2 separate regions of the Homo sapiens genome follow, and region 1 is linked to region 2. The links are contacts of gene promoters, found by promoter capture Hi-C in blood cells and fetal thymus (Javierre and others, 2016). All regions are on one chromosome and are shown on one strand. Each heading gives the region's core, a stretch centred on a gene start or on the middle of the fragment in contact. The rest is flanking DNA. Distances are from core to core; before and after follow the strand shown. Region 1 has its middle 51 kb from the start of C16orf82. Region 2 holds the start of IL21R (interleukin 21 receptor).

Region 1 (6,346 bases), core at 1,416-3,915, 280 kb after region 2:
TAAGGTCCAAATTCAATTCTTTCTCTGATTTTTAAGAGTCTGATAGTTTTAGCTGTTAAAATTTAAACCTTTGATTCATTCTGAGTAATTTTTGTATATGGTGTGAGGTAGGGATTCAACATTATTCATTCTTTTACATGTAGATATCCAGTTGTCCCAGCACCTTTTATTGAAAAAACTATCCCTTTCCCATTGAATAGGCCCTTGCCCCAAATTAATCAACCATAGTTATACGGATTTATTTCTGGAATCTAATTTTTTCCACTGATACATATGCCAATACTGCACTGTCTTGATTACTGTAGTTTTGTAGTAAGTTTTGAAACTGAGAAGTGTGAATTCTTGAACTTTTACTTTTTTTAAGATTCAAGATGGAATTCTTGGATTTCTATAAGAATTTTGGGATAAGCTTGTCAATTCCTGAAAGGAGACAAGCTAGGATAAGAATGCTACAAGAAAAGAAAATCACAGGTCAATATCCCTGATGAGTAAAGGTAAGAAAACTGGATAGGCACATGCAAAAGAATAAAATTGGACACTTGGTTTACACCATATACAAAAGTTAATTCAAAATGTATTTAAATCTTAAATGTAAGATCTGAAACCATAAAACTCATGGAAGAAAACATAGGGGAAAAGCTCCTTGTCATTGATCTTGGCAATGAATTTTTTGATATAACATCAAAAGCACAGACAACAAAAGGAAAAACAAACAAGTGGGACTACATCAAGCTAAAAAGCTTCTGCACACCAAAGAAAACAATAAGTGAAATGCAAAGGCAAACTATGGAATGGGATAAAATATTTGTGAACTGTACATCTCATAAGGGGCTAATAACAAAAATATAGAAAGAACTCACATAACTTAATAGCAAAACCAATCAACCAAATAACCCCCCAAAACAAAACAACACAAAAAACTCCCAAACCCAAATAATGCTATTTAAAAATTGGCAGAGCATCAGGAAGAATAGCTAATGGATGCTGGGCTTAATACCAAAGTGATGGGTTGATCTGTGCAGCAAACCACCATGGTACACCTATGTAACAAACCTGCACATTCTGCACATGTACCCCAGAACTCAAAATAAAAGTAAAAGGAAAAAAAGTAAAGTAAGAGTATAGATTGGAAAAAAAAAATTGGCAAAGGATCTGAATAAACATTTTTCTAAGGAAGACATACAAATGGCCAACAGGTATATGAAAAAGTGCTCAATATCACTAATCATCAGATAAATGCAAACAAAACTACAGTGAGATATCTCGCACCTGTTAGGATGACTATTATCAAAAAGATAAGAGTTGGCAAGTGCTGGTGAGGGTGTAGAGAAAAAGAAATGCTTATACACTGTTGGTGGAAATGGAAATTAGTATAGCCATTAGGGCAAACAGTATGGGGGTTCCTCAAAAAGCCACAAATACAAGTACCACATGATCCAGCCATCTAACTTCTGGGTATATAGCTAAAGGCTGTGAAATTGCTATGTCGAAGAGGTATCTGCACCTCATGTTCATTGCAGCTGTATTCACGGTAGCCAAGATATGGAAACAACCTAAATATCCATGGATGGATGAATGGAGAATATTATTCAGCCATAAAAAGGAATGAAATCCTGTCTTTTGCAACAACATGGATGAACTTAGAGGAAATTATGGGAAGTGAAATAATCTAGACCCAGAAAGACAAATAATGTATGGTCTTATTTATATGTAGAATATTAAAAAGTTGAATTCATAGAAGTAGAGAGTAGAACAGTAGTTACTGGGTACATGGGGAAATGGTGGTCACAGGGCACAAACATTCAGTTATAACATGAACAAATTCTGGGGATCTGGTGTATGACATGGGTGATGATGGATATGTTAATGAATTTGATTGTGGTCATCATTAAACAATGTATATCAAATCATCAGTCATACACCTTAAAATATAAAATCTTTTTGTCAATTAAATACTAAACAAACACATAAAAAATCCAATATATGCACTGCTGAATTGGAGGTGGAACAGAATTTTACAAACTTCAATAACTCACACTGCATCATTAATGCTTTTTTGCCATATTCGGGTACCACCTATACTACTACTAACTTAATAGTCTTCTTTAAAGAGAGTCAATTTTAAAAAATAAATTTATTTAAAAGGAAACTTTACTTTGTCACCCTACATGGAAAATTGGCATCATTTTCCGTAAATAGGAGGTAATCATGAAAATGAATATGATGGGAACACACCAGTGTTTTGTAAGCTTAAGTAGAATATTCTCTTTTCTCTTGAAGGCTCTAAATCTGAGGTCAGTGCTTTATATATTGATAAAGACTAGCAGTGTTAGACTTTTAGGGAGGTGTTAAAGACATATTATCACCAAGCTGAGACTTTCTCATAATTATGAGGCTTTTGAGATAATTGATCTGGGAAGAATTTTCTCATTACGCAGCTCAATGTTTTTTAACGCTTTATTTATTTTCACCAAAAATTATCGTATTTACCATCTAAAATTGTGTTCCATTATGGGTCTGTGTCTGTGGTAGAGAAAATTATTGCTCTCAAAATATCCACCGTCTTCTCTAAGTTTCTCAACTTCCTTTGCAGATGGTTGGGATCATGTGACTTCTTCTGGGCACTGGCTGGTGAGTGCTACTATTGGGCTGTGGCAGTGAAGTGCCGTTTCACTGCTGGGCTGTGGCAGTGTAATGCTAGTGGGCTTTTTCCAGCTCCCTTTTGCATTCCATCCTCCTCCTTGCATTCCAGATATCACAGCCATAGGGACACCTGGACTCTACATGAGTGAGAAATACATTTACTGTGCCAAAGCACTGAGATTTCAGGTTAATTTGTTACTGCAGCATAGTCCAGGGGCACCCAATCTTTTGGCTTCCCTGGGCCACATTGGAAGAACTGTCTTGGGCCACACATAAAATACACTAACACTAATGATGGCTGATAAGCTAAAAAAAAAAAAAAAGCGCCATGCATAAATCTCATAATGTTTTATGAAAGTTTTTGAATTTGTGTTGGGCCACATTCAAAGCCATTCTGGGCTGCATGTGGCCTGCAGGCTGCAGGCTGGACAAGCTTGGTTTAAGCTATTCTGACTGTTGTGAACATGTGGCCCCCACTTGGGAAATATTATCTTTGAAAAACTTTTTTTTTTTTTTTTTTTTTTGAAATGGAGTCTCATTCTCTTGCCCAGGCTGGAGTGCAGTGGTGCTATCTCAGCTCACTGCAACCTCTGCCCTCTGGGTTCAAGCAATTCTCCTGCCTCAGCCTCTCAAGTAGCTGGGATTACAGGTGCACGCCACCATGCCCGCCTAACTTTTGTATTTTTGGTAGAAATGGAGTTTTGCCATGTTGACCATGCTGGTCTCGAACTCCTGACCTCAAGTGATTTGCCCGCCTCAGCTTCCCAAAGTGCTGAGATTACAGGCGTGAACCACCACGCCCGGCCTTTCTTTGAAAAACTTTTGACTAATGTTGGGCCTTCTCAGTTGGGACCCTTATTTCCTTTCTCCTACTCTCCTCCCTTACTGTTTCCTATTCTTCTTCCTTCTCTCTTCCTCCTCCCCTCCCCATGCATTCAGCTAATTCCGTCTCTGATTACCCAACATCACTCTGGGCTCTGCTGGAAGACTCAGAGCCTATAAAGCTTCAGAGGGGCCTCAGTGTTATTTTAGTCAGGCAAACTCCACAGGTAGGAGTTACTTCTCCACACCTCTGACAGTGTCACTTGCATACCTGCAGGAATAGGAAACTCGCTTCCTTTCATGGTAGTCCTTTCCATCACTGGGCAGCTCCATCTAAGAGGCACTTTCTCTTGTGATTAATCAGACAACATTTACACCCCCAGTCATTTCTACTCTTCCCCATGCAGAGTTCTTGCAGAATAGCTGTCCCTGATAAGGACAGCCCTTCCGAGGCCCAGGAAGAAGTCTCAAGGCTTCTCAGGCTCATTCAAGTCGCAAGACACACACACACCCAATGGAGGATTCTGGCAACGTACCATGTGGTAGAAATGTCAGTCCACATCTCAGGTGCATGGGAAATATCACTCTCTTTATTCATTCACTTCACACTATGGTTGGGATGTTTGTCTCCTCCAAATCTCATGTTGAAATGTGATTCCCAATGTTAAAGGTGGTGCCTAGTGGGAAATGGGGGCAGATCCCTCATGAATGTCTTGGTGCCCTCCTGGTGGTAATGAGTGAGTTCTCATTCTATTCATGTGAGATCTGGCCGTTAAAAATTTAGAGCCTGGGAAAGATGGTGACCAGAGGCTGCGAAGGGTAGTGGGGGGTGCCGGTTGGTGGCGGGGAGGAGTTGGGAAGGCTAATGAGTACAAAAATAGTTAGAAAGAATGAATAAGGGCCAGGTGCAGTGGCTCATGGCTGTAATCCCAGCACTTTGGGAGGCCAAGGCGGGTGGATCACTTGAGGTCAGGAATTCAAGACCAGCCTTGCCAACATAGTGAAACCCCATCTCCACTAAAAATACAAAAATTAGCCAGGTGTGGTGGTGGGTGCCTGTAGCTCCAGCTACTCAGGAGGCTGATGCAGGAGAATCACTTGAACCTGGGAGGAGGAGGTTGTAGTGAGCTGAGGTCATGCCACTGCATTCCAGCCTGGGCAACAGAGCGAGACTTCATCTCAAAAAAAAAAAAAAAAAAAAAAAAAAAGGAGAATTAGACCTAGTATTTGATAGATTTGATAGCACAACAGTGTGACTATGGTCAATAATAATTTAATTACACATTTATAAATAACTAAAAGAGTGTAATTGGCTTGTTTGTAACACAAAGGATAAATGCTTCCAATGATGGATCCCCCGTTTACCTTGATAGGATTATTATGCATTGCCTGCCTGTATCAAAATCTCTCATGTACCCCATAAATATATACACTACTATGTACCCACAAAAGTTGAAAAATTAAAGGAAGAATAGAGTCTAGGACCTCCCATGTCTCTCTTGCTCCCTCTCATCATGTGACACGTTGGCTCCTCTTCCTCTCTGCCATGATTAAAAGCTTCCTGAGGCCTCACCAGAAACTGAGCAGATGCTGGCACCATGCTTGCACAGCCTGCAGAACCTTGAGCCAAATAAACCTCCTTTCTTTTAATAAATTACCCAGCCTCAGGTATTCCTTTACAGCAATGCAAAATGGACTAACAAAGTTCATAACCATGTTTAATTTGTGTCCATTCTTCCAATCAATTTAGGTTTCCTTACATTCCTTGGGGTTACCCCTAAGTTCGGCAGGGGCGGAGGTCAGGGTGTTGGGGAGGGGACATCCATGATTTTCTGAGATTCTCAGCCAGTCTTTGACGTCAGGCCATGCGTGCTGCTGTGGCGCTGTGTATAACTGCATCCAAGTCTGAGGGATGCTCCTTGCTGCCCTCGAATGCCAACTCCTGGGTGCATTGAGATCAGGTGGGTGCCCATGCTAAGTTCAATGAGATGCACTGGGAAGTTACTGAGCTTTTCTTTCCTTTTCTTTTTCTTTTCTTCCTTTTTTTTTTTCTTGTTTTTTTTGAGGCGGAGTCTCACTCTATCGCCTAGGCTGGAGTGCAGTGGCATCATCTCGGCTCACTGCAACCTCCACCTCCCAGGTTCAAGTGATTCTCCTGCCGCAGCCTCCTGAATAGCCGGGATTACAGGGATGCGCCACCATGCCCAGCTAATTTTTGTCTTTTTAGTGGAGAGGGGGTTTCACCACATTAGCCAGGCTGGTCTCAAACTCCTGACCTCAGGTGATCCACCTGCCTCAGCCTCCCAAAATGTTGGGATTACAGGCATGAACCACCACGCCCAGACAATTACTGAATTTTTCTGAACCCTCCTGAGTCCTTCACCACGTCCACATTGCTCTTACACGCCTGGGACTCCTGCACTGCTCCACACCAGCTTGTGCATGGAGAGCTCTGGAAGCCTCTCCCAGCTACATTAGTCTAGGCACCGCCCCTACCTTCACAGGTCCACCTTCCTCTCCTGATTGGGCTTCAGCCTGGGTGGGGAAGACCCGGGACCCTTTCCCAGGGACCCTTCAGCATCTCATTCTCTTTGCTGCTCTTCAAATCCCTGGCATGGGGCAGGGCAGTGCTGGCTGCCTTACGTGCCTGGGTCTCATTGCTCCTTTCCACGACCCCAGTATGTTGGGTTCCATTTGGGTTTCCTTTTTAATAGATGGCGGAACTGAGGGCCAGAGAGGCAATGGGCATAGCAGAGCCAGGAGTGAAACCCAGGTGTGTCTGAGCCCTGTGCCAAAGCTCTTTCATCAGCACCCAGCTACTTCTCAGGAAGCACAACTGGGGATGTTACTGAAGTGCGAGAATTTGTGGACCCTGAGAGGT
Region 2 (5,616 bases), core at 1-2,500:
CCTCCTGGCTTTGAATGTCCCGCACCTGGTCTTCTGCCTTCACTGAGCAGAGACGTCATTCCTGCGGCAAGTCCTAAGTTCCCGCTCCCCAGGGCTCCTCCACCAGGAATGTTCTTCCTTTCCCATCCTTCAAGGCTCAGCCTCCACTGACCTCCCCACCCTCCTCTCCTCCACATGCACAGGGAACTGGGTTGGCCTCTTACCATCCGACCCGTTCCCCGTGCTTCATGAGAAAGATGCAGCGACAGCTCATGGGGTCACCTGGCTTGACTGCCCGACCTGCTACGTCCCAGTTGAGTCACCGAGGGAAAATCACTCTACCTCTCGCAGCCTCATTGCCTCATCTGCGAAATGGGCACACCAGCCATTGTTTTGAATGACTGGGTGGAATCAAGGTGGTAAGACATAGAAACTGACACAGAATGGGTCCCATCAGGCTCTACACCCATGCCCGTCACCTCCCGACTCAGCCGCCCAGAATCGGGTGATTGACATGTTATGTTTGGCTTGAAACTGGCTTTCCTTCCCCAGCCCGCTACATTTTGGAGGCTGGTTTTCAAGATAGAGGGTCGTCTCAGCCACATCCCTGCTGCTGGGCCCCTAAGCTGTGCTGAACAAGAGACCCCAACCTCATTTCTGCCCAGCCTCACTGCATGAATCTTCTTTGCCTCAGTGTCCCCAATTGTGACTTGGGCACAGTCCTCCGAGCCCTCCCACTGTGACACTAGATGCAGCAGGCAGGGAACAGTCCCTCCTGGGCAGAGAAGGCACCCTGGTCCCAGCAGAAAACCAGGGCTGGAATTACCTTCTGTTTCGGCTTCTTTCTCAGAAATCCATTCCGTGTGCTGGGGGCAGTCTGATGGGCTTCTGGGGGTGGCAGCTGGGTTCAGCGTGGGGGTGACAGATGAGGGTCTGAGAAAGCAGGCAGAGGCCTGGGGTGAGAATCCACACCCAGCCCGAGTCACCAATCAGGCTGTCATAAGACCTGTCACTCTGATGACGGGCAGCTGGGCCTCCAGGCAGGTGTCCCACAGAGCAGCAGACAGAGGAAAGAGACGGCAAGGAAGGTACCAGGCGGCCGCAGCAGGGATGCACGGGCCGCAGACAGACAGACACAGCTGCGTGGCTGTCAGCCACACTCAGGGAGAGGCAGGCAGAGGGCCAGACGCCGAGCTTACGGTCACTCAGCAGAGAGACGCCAGTGGGTCTGTCTGAGGCCGCTGGCTGCCACCCAGCCGCATGTGCAGAGTGGGGAGGAAGAGGAGGATGTGGTGAGCCGCTCCCCGCCAGCCCCGCCCACCCGCAGCTGGGCTCCTCCTGGGAGGGAGTGAGAAAGAGGTGGGAGGGGGCCTGGCCCCACAGCAGGCACCCACTGTCACCAAAGGTCACCTGCAAGTAAGACATTTGGGGCCATCGGGGTGACACTTCCCTCTTAGGGACCTGTGACATCATCCCCACAGGCCTCTCAGTCATAACCCATGAGGCAGGCAGTGCCTCCTGGAGCCACCACATTGCACAGATATGGAAACTGAGGCCAGAGGTGTGAAGATGTGGCACAGTTTCACCCGTGGACCCAGAGTCCTCAGTGGCCGACTCCAGCCCCTCAGCACAGAGAGAAGGACCAGAACCTTGCCCAAGGTCCCACGGAAGCCCCTTTTTCAGACTTTGCAAACCAGCCTGTTTCTTATTCCTGAGCCTTACCTGCCTAATAGGGTCTGAGCTTGGGACCCTCTGCTCTGGCTTGACCCCCATGCCTCTCTGCCTCCATTTCCTTTGGATCCAGTCTCCTGCTGCAGAGCTCCAGGGAGCAGGACCCCTTGGGCACGTCACATCACCTCTCTGAATGCCTCACTTTGCCCATCTGTCAAATGGGGGCACCTAGCTATGAGGAAGAGGGCAGACATTAACACATGAGAATTCAAGAAGAAAATAGAGAAAAGAAATTCTCAAGAGAGTTTTCATCTTGCTAACATGCCAGAGGCCCATGAGAGGGTCAGATGTTTCTGGAAGACATTCAAGAAACCAGGAGACAAAATGTAACAAGCTTAATGCCTAGTGCAGTCTCCAAAGGAGAGCAAGAGAATTGCTACCACCACCACCGCTACCACCACCACCACTACCACTGCCATCACCACCACCTCGAATTACTTTGGTGCCTACATGATCTCACTTTATCCCACAAAGTGTGAGGCAGACAAGATTAGTCCCATTTTACAGATGGAGAGACTGAGGCCCAGAGGAGTGAAACGTCACACAAGCCAAGAAGAATTAGAGCTGGGATTTGAACCTGGGTGTGTTTGATTCCTAAGCTTATACCAGGCTGTGAAAACGGGGCCATACCAGGATGAAATGTCCCACAGTTGGGGGAGGCTATTTTATGCTGTTTTGATAACAAGATGCAATTTGTAGCTCTCCCTGCTGACTCATTTTTGGGAATCAACTTGCTGTTGACTTTCGTGACCACTCCAGAGAAAAAAGAGAAAGCGTCTTGCTATTCTTTCTTTCTTTTTTTTTCTAGCTGTTTTTGAGGAACTTGGTACAAATTCCCCTGTGGTTGATTTGAGGGATCCTGGCCCTGTAGAGCTCTTCCCAGCTACCGAAGTGTGTCGTGTTCTCTGGAGAACGAACCTTGGGAAGACACCAGCTTTTGTTTTTCTTTCTCTTGATCTTCGGGGTGAATTCTCTGATAACATGCACTGAAATTTGTAGTGGTTGAAAGATCAGGAGAAGAGACAGTAAAAAGAGCTAATATTTGCTGAAAGCTCATTGTGTGCCAGGGTTTTAAGGACTTTAAAGATGCACCCTCTCATTTAAACCTCAGAAATACTCGAGAAGGCTGTGTGCAGCGGTGCACACCTATAATTCCATCATTTTGGGAGGCTGAGGTGGGAGGATCGATTGAGGCTAGGAGTTCAAGACCAGTCTGGGCAACATAGCAAGACCCTGTCTCTATAAAAAAATTTAAAAATTAGACAGTCATGGTGGTGCACGCCTGTAGTCCCAGCTACTCTGGAGGCTGAGGTGGGAGGACCACTTGAGCCAAGGAGCTGAAGGCTGCAGTGAGCTATGACTGTAGTGCTGCACTCAAGCCTGGGCAACAGAGCAAGACTCTGTCTTCAAAAATAAAATCCCCAAAATGAAAAAGAATGAGTCTAGAAGATAGTTATCATCATCATCATCATCGTCCCTGTTTTACAGATGAGGAAACTGAGGCTCAGAGAGGTTAAGTGACTTGTCCAAGGTCACACAGCTGATGAGTGCCAGAGTTGGGATTTGAACTCAGTCATTTGGGCTCCAGAGCCCGCACTCTTAACTCACTACACTGCTCTGGGGTGTGTATGAAAACAAGGATATTCAATTTCTCCTCCCTCCCTCCTGCCTGCCTTCTTTATCTACCTGCTTTCTACCCACCCACCTACCTATCCACCCATTCATTCTTCTCTGCACCCACCCACCCAGCCATTCCTTGCTTCCTCCCCCTAATATTTATTGAGCAGGCTCAGAGAGGTTAAGTGACTTGTCCAAAATCACGCAGCTTGGCTACATCCTGGGGCTAGCCCACAGAAATATACACACAGTGACAGCCCCCATGGAGCCTATATTCTAGTAGGGAGAGTTAGACAAAAAGAAGTAACAGACAAACTCAATGTAAACTGTACTAAATGTCATAGAAAACCAATGAGAGATCAAGGTTGTGACATTTGGGGGTACACTAGGTGCTAAGAAGTGCCCAGCCATGGGAAGAACATTATCGGCAGAAGGATCTGCAAGTGCAAAGGCACTGAGGTAGGAAAGAATGTGGCTGGCTCCAGGAACTTGAGAACAGCATGGCGTAATACAGTGAGCAAATGGAGGAATAGTAGAAGGTGAAGGCACGGAAATCACACATCTACACCACATGGGACCTCACGGTTTTGGGTGAGGAAGGTAGATTGTTCCAAAGGAAATGGGAAGTCATCATTGGAGGGTTTCATCTTAAGAGTGGCTTAATCCAGTTTACATTTTCAGTTCAGGCCAGGAGTTGGGGAATGGGTGGGATCAGCAGGGGTCACAGTCCCTTGGTGCTTAAAAAGTAGATGCATTTGGAGCTGCCAGGCCCATGTCCACTGGGGTAAACATGAGTCCCCTCAGAAATAGACATGTGGTCCCTTGAGGGGTTCCTCTGGGTCTGTAAATGTCTCATAAGTATGGCCTCTATACCCTTGGAAGGAAGGTGCCATAGGATCTCAGCGGCCCTCCAACCATGCCTCAGTGCTGATAGCTGGTCAGCGGGGAGGAAGTGGTCACATTTGCATTTCAGCCAAGGGGCCTCCTGGGAAAAAATAATTGACACACCCCCTCCCTCAACCCATTTCCTCTTTTTTATTTTTATTTTAAGAGCTTTATTTAGCTATGTTTTACATAACATAAAATCAAGCCACTGTAAATGTACAGTTCAATGATTTTTAGTGAATTTATCGAATTGTGCAATTATAACCACGATCCAATTTTAAAACAATCCCATCACTCCTGAAAGGTTCCTTGTGCCTGCTTATAGTCAATCTCCATTCCCATTCCCAGGGCCACTCGTCTACTTTATGCCTCTACTGATTTTGCTTTTTTTTTTTCCTAGGCATCTCATATCAATATGTTGTCTTTTGTGTTTAGTTTCTTTCAGCATCGCGTGTTTGGGGTTCAACCACGTTGTAGCGTGTGTTGGCACCACATATCTAAAAATCCATTTTTAGGCCAGGCGCGGTGGCTCATGCCTGTAATCTCAACACTTTGGGAGGCCAAGGTGGGCGGATCACTTGAGATCAGGAGTTCGAGACCAGCTTGGACAACATGGTAAAACCCCGCCTCTACTAAAAAATACAATAATTAGCCTGGTGTGGTTGCACACGCCGGGAGATTGAGACCAGCCTGGCCAACATGGTGAAACCCTGTTCTACTAAAAATACAAAAATTAGTTAGGTATGGTGACGTGCACCTGTAGCCCTAGCTACTCAGGAGGCTGAGGCAGGAGAATTGCTTGAACACGGGAAGTGGAGGTTGCAGTGAGCAGAGCTAGTGCCACTGCCCTCCAGCCTGGGAGACAGAGCGAAACTCCATCTCAAAAAAATAAAAAATAAAAATTGATTTTTATTGCTGAAGAATATTACATTGCATAGATATGCCACATTCATTTATCCTTTCATGAGATGATGGACATTTGGAGTATGTCCACTTTTTCCTTTACTACAAACAAGCATGCTATGAACACTTGCATGCGAGTCTTTGTGTAGACATGCATTTTCAAATCTTTTGGATATATACCCAGAAGGAGACTTGTTGAGTTAAAGGTAGTTTAACTTATTAACTTTTAAATAAGTTTAACTTATTAAGAAACTGACAAACTGTTTTTCACAGCAGCTGCCCTGTATTATATTCCCACCAGCAATGTCTGAAGGTTCCCATTTCTCTACGTCCTTGACAATATGTATTTTCTTTTTTTTTTTTTTCTTTTTTTTTTTTTTTTTGAGATGGAGTCTCGGTCTGTCGCCCAGGCTGGAGTGCAGTGGCGCGATCTCGGCTCACTGCAAGCTCCGCCTCCCGGGTTCACGCCATTCTCCTGCCTCAGCTTCCCGAGTAGCTGGG

Evidence for each region. Contacts are between HindIII fragments. The CHiCAGO score rates a contact against its expected background, and 5 or more counts as called.
Region 1: a fragment that was not itself captured here is called in contact with the fragment with the promoter of IL21R in region 2 in 5 of 17 cell types (total CD8 T cells, total B cells, naive B cells and 2 more); the score reaches 6.4 in total CD8 T cells.

What each region holds. Positions count from the first base shown.
Region 1 is chr16:27,114,998-27,121,343 of GRCh38, reverse strand. No RefSeq gene overlaps it. Among named protein-coding and RNA genes, the nearest start is that of C16orf82, 51 kb to the right of the region's middle. The HindIII fragment of the contact is 827 bases long and covers 2,252-3,078 here.
Region 2 is chr16:27,397,808-27,403,423 of GRCh38, reverse strand. It overlaps IL21R (interleukin 21 receptor), which reads right to left and starts at 1,250. Exons shown (of 9, transcript NM_181078.3): 1 at 806-1,250. RefSeq lists enhancers at 619-738, 631-1,173. The HindIII fragment of the contact is 2,346 bases long and covers 1-2,046 here.